Regions from separate parts of the Homo sapiens genome. Here all the other regions are linked to region 1. Evidence: promoter capture Hi-C in 16 types of primary human blood cells and fetal thymus (Javierre and others, 2016). All regions are on one chromosome and are shown on one strand. The core of a region is centred on a gene start or on the middle of the fragment in contact, and the rest is flanking DNA. Distances in the headings are between cores, read along the strand shown.

Region 1 (3,603 bases), core at 399-2,898:
TTTGTTTGTTTGTTTGTTTGATACAGAGTCTCACTCTGTCTCCCAGGCTGGAGTGCAGTGTCGCCATCTGGGCTCACTGCAACTTCCGCCTCCCAGGTTCAAGCAATTCTCCTGCCTCAGCCTCCCGGGTAGCTGGGACTACTGGCACGCACCACCACACCTGGCTAGTTTTTTGTATTTTTAGTAAAAACGGGGTTTCACCGTGTTAGCCAGGATGGTCTCAATCTCCTGACCTTATGATCCGCCCGCATCGGCCTCCCAAAGTGCTGGGATTACAGGAGTAAGCCACCGCGCCCGGCTTCTGCCCTGGGCTTTATACCCTGGGGCCATGTGACATGTTGGGCTGAAGTGTTGAAGGACATGCTTTTTCTAGGGGGACTGGAACAGAGCATGGCTGTGCTGGCCAGTCCTTCCTTCCCTCAGGATGTTGCATTCTCTGCACACTCTACAGTTTTATTTATTTATTTATTGAGACAGTCTTGCTCCATCACCCAGGCTGGAGTGCAGTGGCACTGTCTCAGCTCACTGCAACCTCCGCCTCCCAGGTTCGAGGGATTCTCCCTGCTCAGCCTCCCGTGTAGCTGGGATTACAGGTGCCCACCACCACGCTTGGATAATTTTTGTATTTTTGGTAAAGACGGGGTTTCAGCATGTTGGCTAGGCTGGTCTTGAACTTCTGATCTCAAGTGATCTGCCCGCCTCGGCCTCCCAAAGTGCTGGGATTACAGGCGTCTACAGTTATTCTTGAGAACTACAAGCAAGAAAGGAGGGGAGAACCAGGTCAGTTCAAGGCCACTGGGAGAACTGTCCTGCACCGCCTGCCTCTGAAGCCCATGATGTTTCTGCTTTGTGGGACAGTTGTTCAGGTGCCTGCTTCCCCAGGCCTTCCCCTGCGCCTTCCCCCTCTCTCCTACACACACCATCTGACTGTCCTTCCAGCACGTACACCTCCAGATGCTTGGGTTGGCCTGACCCAAAACAGTCTACTCTCCCGGCCAAGCCAATTGCCCCTGGGATTTTCTGCTCCTCCAAGATCCCGTGCATAGCCCTGGTGGTGGCTCATGCCCTTAATCCTTAGTTACTCTAGATGCTGAGGCAGGAGGATCGCTTGAGGCCGAGGAGTTCAAGACCTCCCCTCTCCCAAATATTTGTAAATGAAATTAAAAGAAAGATCCAGCCCAAGTGTCTCTTCTGCCCTACTGACTCCCACACTCTTAAAACAGATGACCTCACAGCACTGAGGCGGACGGCTCTGGTGTCCAGCAGGCACGGAATTAATACGCCTTGCCTGTCCTGGCCGGTTGGCTTGCCTCTCTCCTGCCAGAATGCAACCTGGCTTTATGCACCTAGATGTCCCCAGCGCCCAGTTCTGAGCCAGGCACATCAAATGTCAAGGAATTGACTGAACAAACTAAGAGCTCCTGGATGGGTCCGGGAACTCGCCCGGGCACAAGGTGCCAAAAGGCAAGCAGCCCGCCTCGCGGCCTGGGGAAAGAACCGACAGGAGGCCGCAGTGAGCGCCCGGGCGCCCGGCAGGTGGCGCCGCAGCCCCGGGCCCGGGCCCTCTTGTCGCGCGGTCACGCAGCCCCTCTTCCTTCCGCCGGCTGCGCACTCACAGTGATCCCTGCGCGCGTCTCCTGCTCGGGTCAGTGCGCCGCGCTGCGCTGGGCGCCATGGCGCTCCCCGGAGCCCGGGCTCGCGGCTGGGCGGCAGCAGCCAGAGCGGCCCAGAGGCGCCGCCGCGTGGAGAACGCAGGAGGGTCCCCGAGTCCTGAGCCTGCGGGCCGGCGCGCGGCGCTTTACGTACACGTGAGTAGGGGCGGGGGCGGAGCCCACGGTGTGTGGCCGCAGCCCTGGCCGTGACCGTGGCCGTCCAAAACCCAGGTGGCGGTTTGTCACTCTATGAACCCGCCTGCCGTGTTTCCGTGCCCCCGTACGAGGTCTGGGATGGGACCCTGTGCTTTGGCAGGGAAATGACTTGGTCCAGAAACCTGAAGTCTCTGCTACTCACCGGCTCGGTGACTCTGACCAAATGGTTCAAATTTCATAACAATTTTCCTCTTAGCAAGACAAAATTTTCTTAAGAGCAGTGTTCTGACTCGGTAGCTGGGAAAATGGCTCATAGGAAAATTGTATGAAAATTATATGATCCCAGAAAGAGCTTGGGTTGAATTCCTTCCTGACGTCTGCTGGTTGGAAGAGGCAGCGTAACAAAGGAGTGAGCCTCAGTTTTCTCACATTGAAGTGGATGTAATAACCCCAGTGCGACCTGCCTTGGGGAGTTGTGTGGCTTAGATGTCCTAGCTACTGTGGAAAGACCTCGGGATAGGGGTGGGGGTGGGGTTGGGGGTGTGTGCGACTGAACCCTGGAAGTGGCCAGGGCAGCTCTCACCGCGCACGTGCACTCACTGCCCCCAGTGGCCTTACTGCGAGAAGCGCTGCAGTTACTGCAACTTCAACAAGTACATCCCTCGCCGCCTGGAGGAGGCTGCCATGCAGAAGTGTCTGGTGACCGAAGCTCAGACGCTGCTGCGGCTCAGCGGGGTGCAACGGTGGGTAGTGGGGGCTGTAGGCAGCGTTTTGGGAAATATTTGGAGGAGTGGTGGGGGATAGGTGCAGGCATCCCAGAGGGCTCCCCCAGGTCTCATTTCTCCATTCTCTTTCCCCAGGGTGGAGTCTGTGTTCTTTGGTGGGGGGACCCCCAGTCTAGCCAGTCCCCACACGGTGGCTGCTGTCCTGGAGGCTGTGGCACAGGCAGCCCACCTGCCTGCAGACTTGGAAGTCACATTGGAGGCTAATCCTACTTCAGCTCCGGGCTCCAGACTGGCAGAGTTCGGGGCAGCAGGGGTTAACAGGTTGTCTATAGGCCTCCAGGTAACCCATGGCACTCACCCCATCCCAGTGCACCCCGCCCTTCAGTGCCATCTCCTCTTTGGTCACATTCATTCATTGGGCAAACATTGATTGAGCACCTTCTGGGTGCCAGGGACACAGTAGGGCCTAGTGCGACACTTTTATAACTCCTTAATTGTCTGCTGCTGTCATAGACCACAGACTTTATGAGAAAGGGATCAGGTGTGGCTTTTCTATTTCAAACACTTACCATAGTGCCTGGCACATAGTAGGTGGTCAAAAAAGATTTGCTACATGACACGGGAGACGCAGACATGTAGCCAGATTATTGCAGCATGGTAAATGTCACCTGTAAAGGGGGTCTCTATAAAAGGCTTCTAGAGTACAGCCTGAAGGGAGGTCACTCTGATGAAATCACTGAAACTTCTCTGGAGGAGATGTTTGAATGAAGAGGAAGAGTTCACCAGGTGAGGGGGTGTGGGGGAAACGACACAGGCCATGGAAGAGCCTGGCATGTTTTGGGGGAGTTGTGAGTCATTCCTTGTGATTGGAGAGGCTGGAAACAAGGTTGCAAGGTAGAGTCCAAAACCTTTGGTGCCTACTAAGGAGTGTGGGTTTTGTCCTAGTAATGATAGGGAGCCATTGAAGGTTTTTAAGTAGGGAGAAACCTAGTCGTCTCAGGTTGACCTCCGATATTTCCGTAGGACTTCCGGGTTGTGGGCTTTGTTCTGATGGAATATGCTGACAGAAA
Region 2 (3,603 bases), core at 517-3,016, 250 kb after region 1:
GTGTTTATTTGTATTTTGCAATTGTTTGAGATTATTGTTTTGGTTTTTTGCACTAAGCAATTGCTTGGTTAATCCTAAACAACCACAGTGATGAGGAAAGCATGTGATTGTAACTAACTGCCTAGGGTGAGTACCTTTCAGTGAGGGTTTGATTTCAGTGTTAGCCAGAGAAGGCACTAGTAGCCATATTATTAGAAGATTGTAGTAAATTGTAAAGTCTGATCGGGAGTTTTGTTATTTTTTATGTAGCAAGACAGAAATTTTGTAGTTCAAATTGAGGTTTTTATATTCTAGATCTCAACCTGAAAATGAAATTACTTAATCATTAACACTGATTCTAATATCTGAAATGAGTTTTCTTCCATTTATCAAACTCAAGCCTACCCTTCCTTCCATGAAGGTTTAACATGAAGGTTTAATAATTTATGAAGGAAATTGAACTATGTTCTTTTCTAAAATCTTTGGAATGTTAGCAGATACTGTCATTGACACTGAAAAGTTGTTTAGAAAAGGAAAAATAGCTAAAGCTTCTGTCCACATTTTTTACTTGTATACTTTTTCTTTTTGCTTTAAAAATGTTCAGAATTTGGGAGCAAAAATTGAAAGCAAAAAACTAGTAATTATAATGCATGATGGCATCTATTAATATGTATTTTACTAGTTTTCATTCAGAGTCACCAAAATGTTCATAGTAACTTACTATGTTACTATGGAGTAAGATAGAAAAGCATTTTCTACCCTGCTCCCTGCCCCCCCCCCTTTTTTTTTTTGAGACAGAGTCTAGCTCTGTCACCCAGGCTGGAGTGTAGTGGCATGATCTTGGCTCACTGCAACCTCCACCTCCTGGCCTCAGCGTCCCGAGTAATTGGGATTGCAGGTGTGGGCCACCACGCCCGGCTAATTTTTGTATTTTTAGTCGACAGGGTTTTGCCATATTGGCCAGGCTGGTCTTGAACTCCTGACCTCAAGTGATCGGTCCGCCTCAGTCTCCCAAAGTGCTGAGGTTACAGGCGTGAGCCACTGCGCCCGGCTGGCATTTCCTACCTTACTCCATAGTAAAATAGTAAGTGTTGGCTTCTCAGAATTGCCAGCAGTCCATGTGTTATATGTGTATGTAATTGCTATTTGCTTTTCTTCCCAAAACATACAGAATTAGAGTGAATAGTATAATAAATTGAACTCCCCATGTACCCATGCCCAATTTAGCAATATTAGCACATAGTCAATATTATTTCCTCTGTATCCCTTCCATTATTTTGAAGCAATTCTGTTATTGTCAACCTTAAAGCGGTCATTGTATATCTGTAAAATACAAGGACTTTAAAAAAAAAACATAGCCGACCGGGCATGGTGGGTCACCTGTAATCTCAACATTGGGAGGCCAAGGCAGGCAGATCACTTGAGGCCAGGAGTTCGAGACCAGCCTGGCCAACATGGTGAAACCCTGTCTCTAATAAAAAATAAAAAAATTAGCTGGGCGTAGTGGTGCATTCCTGTAATCCCAGCTACTCTGGAGGTTGAGGCAGGAGGATCCTTTCAACCCAGGAGGCAGAGGTTGCAGTGAGCCGAGATGGTGCCACCACAGTCCAGCCTGGGCAACAGAGTGACACTCTGTCTCAAAAAAAAAATAGAATAAAATAACCACAATACCATAATCACTGAAAATTATAGTAAGGTATTTCGTAAATCTTTGGTTGCTTTAGGAAAATTGTGTGTGTGTGTGTGTGTGTGTGTGTGTGTGTGTCATTATATATGTTATTAGCCTTGATTTCCTCACAAAAGGAGAAGGTAGCTTAAGTTTGTAAATTTGACTTTTTTGCTAATACAGTTCTTCGTTTTATGAAATATTTTCTCTTTTTTTTTTTTTTTTTACCCCCGAGATGGAGTCTTGCTCTGTTGCCCAGGTTGGAGTGCAGTGGTGTGATCTCAGCTCACTGCAACCTCCACCTCCCGGGTTCAAGCGATTCTCCTGCCTCAGCCTCCAGAGTAGGTGGAATTACAGGTGCATGCCACCATGCCTGACTAATTTTTGTGTTGTTGTAGAGATGGGGTTTCACCATGTTTGCCGGGCTGGTCTTGAACTTTTGACAACAAGTGATCCTCCCTCGGCCTCCCAAAGTGCTGGGATTACAGGGGTGAGCCACCATGCCCAGCCTTTCTCTTCATTTCTTATAGTAAGTTAGGAAAATTGTTGTATTCATTTATCCAACAAAAATGTATTGCTCGGCTGGGAGCGGTGGCTCACGCCTGTAATCCTAGCACTTTGCGAGGCTGAGGCGGGTGGATCACCTGAGCTCAGGAGTTTGAGACCAGCCTGGCCAACATGGCGAAACCCTGTCTCTACTAAAAATACAAAAATTAGCCAGGTGTGGTGGCGCACGCCTGTAATCCCAGCTACTCGGGAGGCTGAGGAAGGAGAATCGCTTGAACCCGGGAGGTGGAGGTTGCAGTGAGCCGAGATCACGCCACTGCATTCCAGCCTGCGTGACAGGAGCAAGACTCCATTTCAAAAAAAAAATTAAAAGTATTGCTCTTAGGTAGATAACAGCAGGATAGTACAGATACAGCACTTGGTCCTAAAGAGCCATCATGTATTGGTGACAGTAAATGCACTTTTTTTTTCCAATGGGGATTATTCCAATTGAATGTAAACGCATTTCCATAACAGAATATGATAAATCCTACCATTGGGAAAAGTAAAATTGACCCTTGAACAACACGGGTTTGAGTTGAGTGTGTCCATTTATACGTGGAGTTTTTTCAATAAATATATTGGAACATTTTTTGGAGATTTGCAACAATTTGAAAAAACTTGAAGACGAATCACATAGCTTAGAAATATTTTTAAAATTTAAGAAAAGATAAGTACATCACAAATACATAAAATAGATGTATATACTAGTTTATCATTTTCCTACCACAAAATACATACGAATCATAAAAAGTTAAACTTTATAAAAACTTATGCACACAGTACATGGTGCCACTAGCAGTCCAGAGAAAGTAAAGCTTGAGTAATAACTGCATAAAATTAACTATAGTACATACTGTAATACTGTAATAATTTTGTAGCCACCTGTTGCTATTACAGTGAGCTCAAGTGTTGCCAGGCTCCACTTAAAATGCCCTATGACCTGTGACTCTTGATAATCTCTGCATGAGCAGTTGGTGTCTAAAGTAAATTGCATATCACAGTAAAAAATTATCCCTTGGTTCTTGTGTATTTTCATCATTGTTTATTGCAATACCGTATAAACTTGTTGTTTTGCTTTTTGTTGTTGTTGTTTTTGAGACAGTCTTGCTCTGTCGCCCAGGCTGGAGTGCAGTGGTGCCATCTCGGCTCACTGCAACCTCTGCTTCCCAGGTTCAAGCAGTTCTCATACCTCAGCCTCCCAGGTAGCTGGGATTACAGCCGTGTACCACCATGTCTGGCTAAGTTTTGTATTTTTAGTAGAGATGGGGTTTTGTCATGTTGGCCAGGCTGGGCTCGAACTCCTGGCCTTAAGTGATCCGCCCACCTTGGCCTCCCAAAGTGCTGGGATTAGAGGTGTAAGCCACAGCGCCTGGCCTATGTACAATACCATGACCTTTGAATAACGCCCT
Region 3 (3,603 bases), core at 827-3,326, 220 kb after region 1:
GAGAAGTGATTTTGGATTTCAGATTCTAAACATTAGTAAATAATGTATAAACAAGCCTGTTAGAGTTCAGCTAGAACCAGGTAACCGGGCTGGTAATCTCAACTTTTCACAAAGCCGATGAGCAAAATATTTAATATGCTTAAATTTTGTTTTTAAATTTCATTTCTGGCTCCTGAGAAAAACTAACTTAACCTAGGAGTTTTAATTTCAATAGCCTCCAGAAGGTAAGCTCACTGGCTGGCTAACTCCAATGATACCGTGGAATATACTCTATCAGTATCGCTCATTAGATCATCTCAGTCTCTGAAACATATTTTTCTATTGCTATATTCCTTTTCAGGGACTATGGAAACTCACTTCATATGCCACCTGAAGATTCAATATTATCAGGATAATAACCATCTCCTATCAGCAGCTTGCTCTGTCACTTAAATTATTATTATGACAGCAGATATTCTTGCCTGAATCCCAGTTGCTCACTTTCTTTTTCCTTCTTACTTTTCTTTCCTTAACACACACACAAAGGATTTCCAAATTTCCATTTTTAAAAAGTTGGCTTCTCTAGTTCTCTCCAGAAGGCTACAAACATATCCTCATCTGCGTAAATGTAAGGCACTGCACACATACTTTAATTCCTGAGGTACTTAAAAAATATACATCAACAACCAAAATTCTTCACGAACAGGTTCTTCTAACATATCAGACTCATTTAAGTAAAACTAATCACTCAATATTGTACACAGAGGAAGCAATTCTGCACACTCTGAAGGGCTACTATTTTAATACTGTACAGAAACATAATTAGCATGCCAGCAAAAACTCCATCTTAACAGAAATGAAAGATTCAGAGCAACTAAATCCATCCCTAGGTGCCAGAGCTGACTGTATATTATGGAAGGAAAATACTTTTCGCCTGTGTTTTGAAAGGTCTTCTTTCACCAACTCTCTAACTGAACTGAGATACATATCTTCAGAGCTCTTATAGCCAAATACAGAAATGAAGATTAGAACAAATGTTCAATATTGAAGGTTAGTTCACTAACCTGGGAAGTATAATTATTTGGAAAGTTTATATGATTCCAGGAAAAAGCTGATTTGCCCTGGGCTTAACATTAGTAACTTACAGAAAGTTAGCATGTCTGGCTGGCTGGGAGCAATTCCATTGATGTCTCAGAGTGACATTCTACATTATGGTTCATTAGAATTAGATTATCCAGGTTCCTTTAAGGTGTATTCCATGATGCAATGACAAAATTATTGCTAATTTGGGAAAAATAAGAGTCTCGTTAAGTTTGGGAGAGAAGAGTCTTGATCAAGCTCCCTGAAGGCAAGGAAGTGTTTGCTTGGCATGTATTAATTAATATTTACTGAATGGGCCAGGCACGGTGGCTCACACCTGTAATCCCAGCACTTAGGGAGGCCAAGGCAGGTGGATCACTTTAGGTCGGGAGTTTGAGACCAGCCTGCCCAATAGGGTGAAACCCCATCTCTACTAAAAATACAAAAATTAGTGTGATGGTGCATGTCTGTAATCCCAGCTACTGGGGAGGCTGAGGCAGGAGAATTGCTTGAACCCAGGAGGTGGAGGTTGCAGCGAGCCAAGATTGTGCCACTGCACTTCAGCCTGGGCAACACAGCAAGACTCCATCTCAAAAAAAAAAAAAGTACCAAATGAGTAAACTAAGGATAAAGTGGACCTTGCTTGAAGTAGAAGGATCCAATCTACCCTTGATTCTGGGCAAACTGGAACCTTGAGTGTGTTTGTGTGTGGATGTCTGTGGCACAGGCTTAAAAAGTGAACAATTATAATGATAAGTGAGCCCTCAAAAATGAATGAAGCATGATGAGAAAAATATGCTCCCTTTTGGAAATAAAATGCTCACTTGCTAGTAGTAGATCACTTGTTCGTGGCAAGCTTGAGAGTAAAGGAGGTAATTTACTACCAGTGGGTCTGAGAGACTCTGGGACAAACCAACTTGCTAAACTACCACCCATGTAAAGCAGGGTTAAGTCAACATAGCGTGGCCCCCACAGCCCTGTGCCTTAGTGATCATCATTTACCGTCCAGAGCTGTGCGGCTCTGGGCAGCCATAACTCAGAGCCCCTGCAGCCAGGTAATATTTTCAAGTTCTTCATGAACCAAGGGTTATGCATGACACTTGAATTACAACTGATGTGGGGGAATGATTAGTGATCAATCTAATTGATAGATTACTCTATCTTTGAACTTCAACTCCTTAAGCTTTACATTTGCAGTCAAAATATCTTATTAGTGTCAGAAACTATTTCAGACCTGAGGCACTGGGTGTCATTCATCAACAGGGCATCACTCATTGGTGCTGAAATTGTGATTACTGAGCAACTAAGACTTGAAAGCAGTCACCATTCTGCTTTGCAAATGCAAGAGAGTACGTTTTTTTGAGGGTAACCTTATATTCCATTATCTAGCATATTGCTTCATAATAAGAAAACAACAACAATGGCTAATACAGGTATAATGCTTTACGTGTTGGACATTGTTCTAAAGGCATTACATGTATTAACTTATTTAATCCTCTAAACCCATGAGGTAATACTACTGTCAACATTCCCCCCATTTTACAGAAGAGGAAACAGACATCAGCAAATAAATAAGCAAAGCACGCAGTACGCTAGGTGGTGATGAAGTATGACAGCAATAGTAAAGCAGGGAAAGGCATTAGGGAATGACAGAGGTTGGAAAGGGGCATTGTGCAACTTTAAATTGAGGGCCCAGGAAAAGCCTTGCCAAGAAGGTGACATCTAAACTAAAATCTGAAGGTGGTGAGGAAGCAAACCATGTGATATCTGGAGGGAAAGCATTTAAGAGAGTGGGAAGACAAAACGCAAAGATCTTGAATCAGGACTGTCTGGTATTCCAGAGAAAGCAAGGAGGCCAGGGGAAAAAGGTAAGCAGAAGGGCAAATCCCATGAGATTAGCACAGAGGTAAGGAGGGAAGATGTGGGGACAGGAAGTAGAAATTGTAGGACCCTGTAGGCTTTTACTGAGTGAGATAGGAGCCATTTTTGAGCAGAGTGAAATGATCTGACTTATGTTTTAAGTCAGGATCCCTCTGACCACTGTGTTAATTAAGAAGACTGTATGATATAAGCTTAGGAGCAAGGACACTAGTAGGAGGCTATTGTAATAATCCAAGCAAGAGAAACAATGGTGGCTTTGTATCAGAGGTGTAGTGGTAGGGTTAGTGAGAAGTAGTCAGATTCTGACTGTATCTGAAGGTGGAGCTCATAGAATTGGCTGACTGGATGTCGGCTATGAAAGACAGGAGGCAAGCAGGAGGCAAGCAGGGTGCCAAGGGTTCTGGCCTGAGCACTCCTGAGAGGCTGAGGACTCAGAGGAGCAGGCTTGAGGTGGTAGAGGGATGAGGGGAGACTTGGAATTCAATCTTGGACATGTTGAGTTTGAGGGGCCTATTAGACAGTTCCTCCAATTAAATCTACAAGAGGCCGGGCGCGGTGGCTCACGCCTATAATCCCAGCACTTTGGGAGGCCGAGGCGGGCAGATCACCTGAGGTCAGGAGTTCGAGACCAGCTTGGCTAACATGGTGAAACCCCATTTCTAC

The links. The method cuts DNA at HindIII sites, captures the fragments that hold promoters and counts their contacts. A CHiCAGO score of 5 or more calls a contact.
Region 2: a contact is called between a fragment that was not itself captured here and the fragment with the promoter of RSAD1 in region 1, in 4 of 17 cell types (M0 macrophages, M2 macrophages, M1 macrophages and 1 more). The highest score is 8.5, in M0 macrophages.
Region 3: a contact is called between a fragment that was not itself captured here and the fragment with the promoter of RSAD1 in region 1, in 4 of 17 cell types (megakaryocytes, M1 macrophages, M0 macrophages and 1 more). The highest score is 8.6, in megakaryocytes.

What each region holds. Positions count from the first base shown.
Region 1 is chr17:50,477,212-50,480,814 of GRCh38, forward strand. RSAD1 (radical S-adenosyl methionine domain containing 1) reads left to right here and starts at 1,649. Exons shown (of 9, transcript NM_018346.3): 1 at 1,649-1,808; 2 at 2,418-2,551; 3 at 2,669-2,873. The coding sequence starts at 1,674. RefSeq lists silencers at 1,415-1,904, 2,476-2,862. The HindIII fragment of the contact is 15,448 bases long and covers 1-3,603 here.
Region 2 is chr17:50,722,903-50,726,505 of GRCh38, forward strand. The region is part of intron 1 of LUC7L3 (LUC7 like 3 pre-mRNA splicing factor); the gene reads left to right. Among named protein-coding and RNA genes, the nearest start is that of LUC7L3, 5.1 kb to the left of the region's middle. RefSeq lists an enhancer at 2,034-2,533. The HindIII fragment of the contact is 2,482 bases long and covers 526-3,007 here.
Region 3 is chr17:50,700,749-50,704,351 of GRCh38, forward strand. The region is part of intron 1 of ANKRD40 (ankyrin repeat domain 40); the gene reads right to left. Among named protein-coding and RNA genes, the nearest start is that of ANKRD40, 5.4 kb to the right of the region's middle. The HindIII fragment of the contact is 327 bases long and covers 1,914-2,240 here.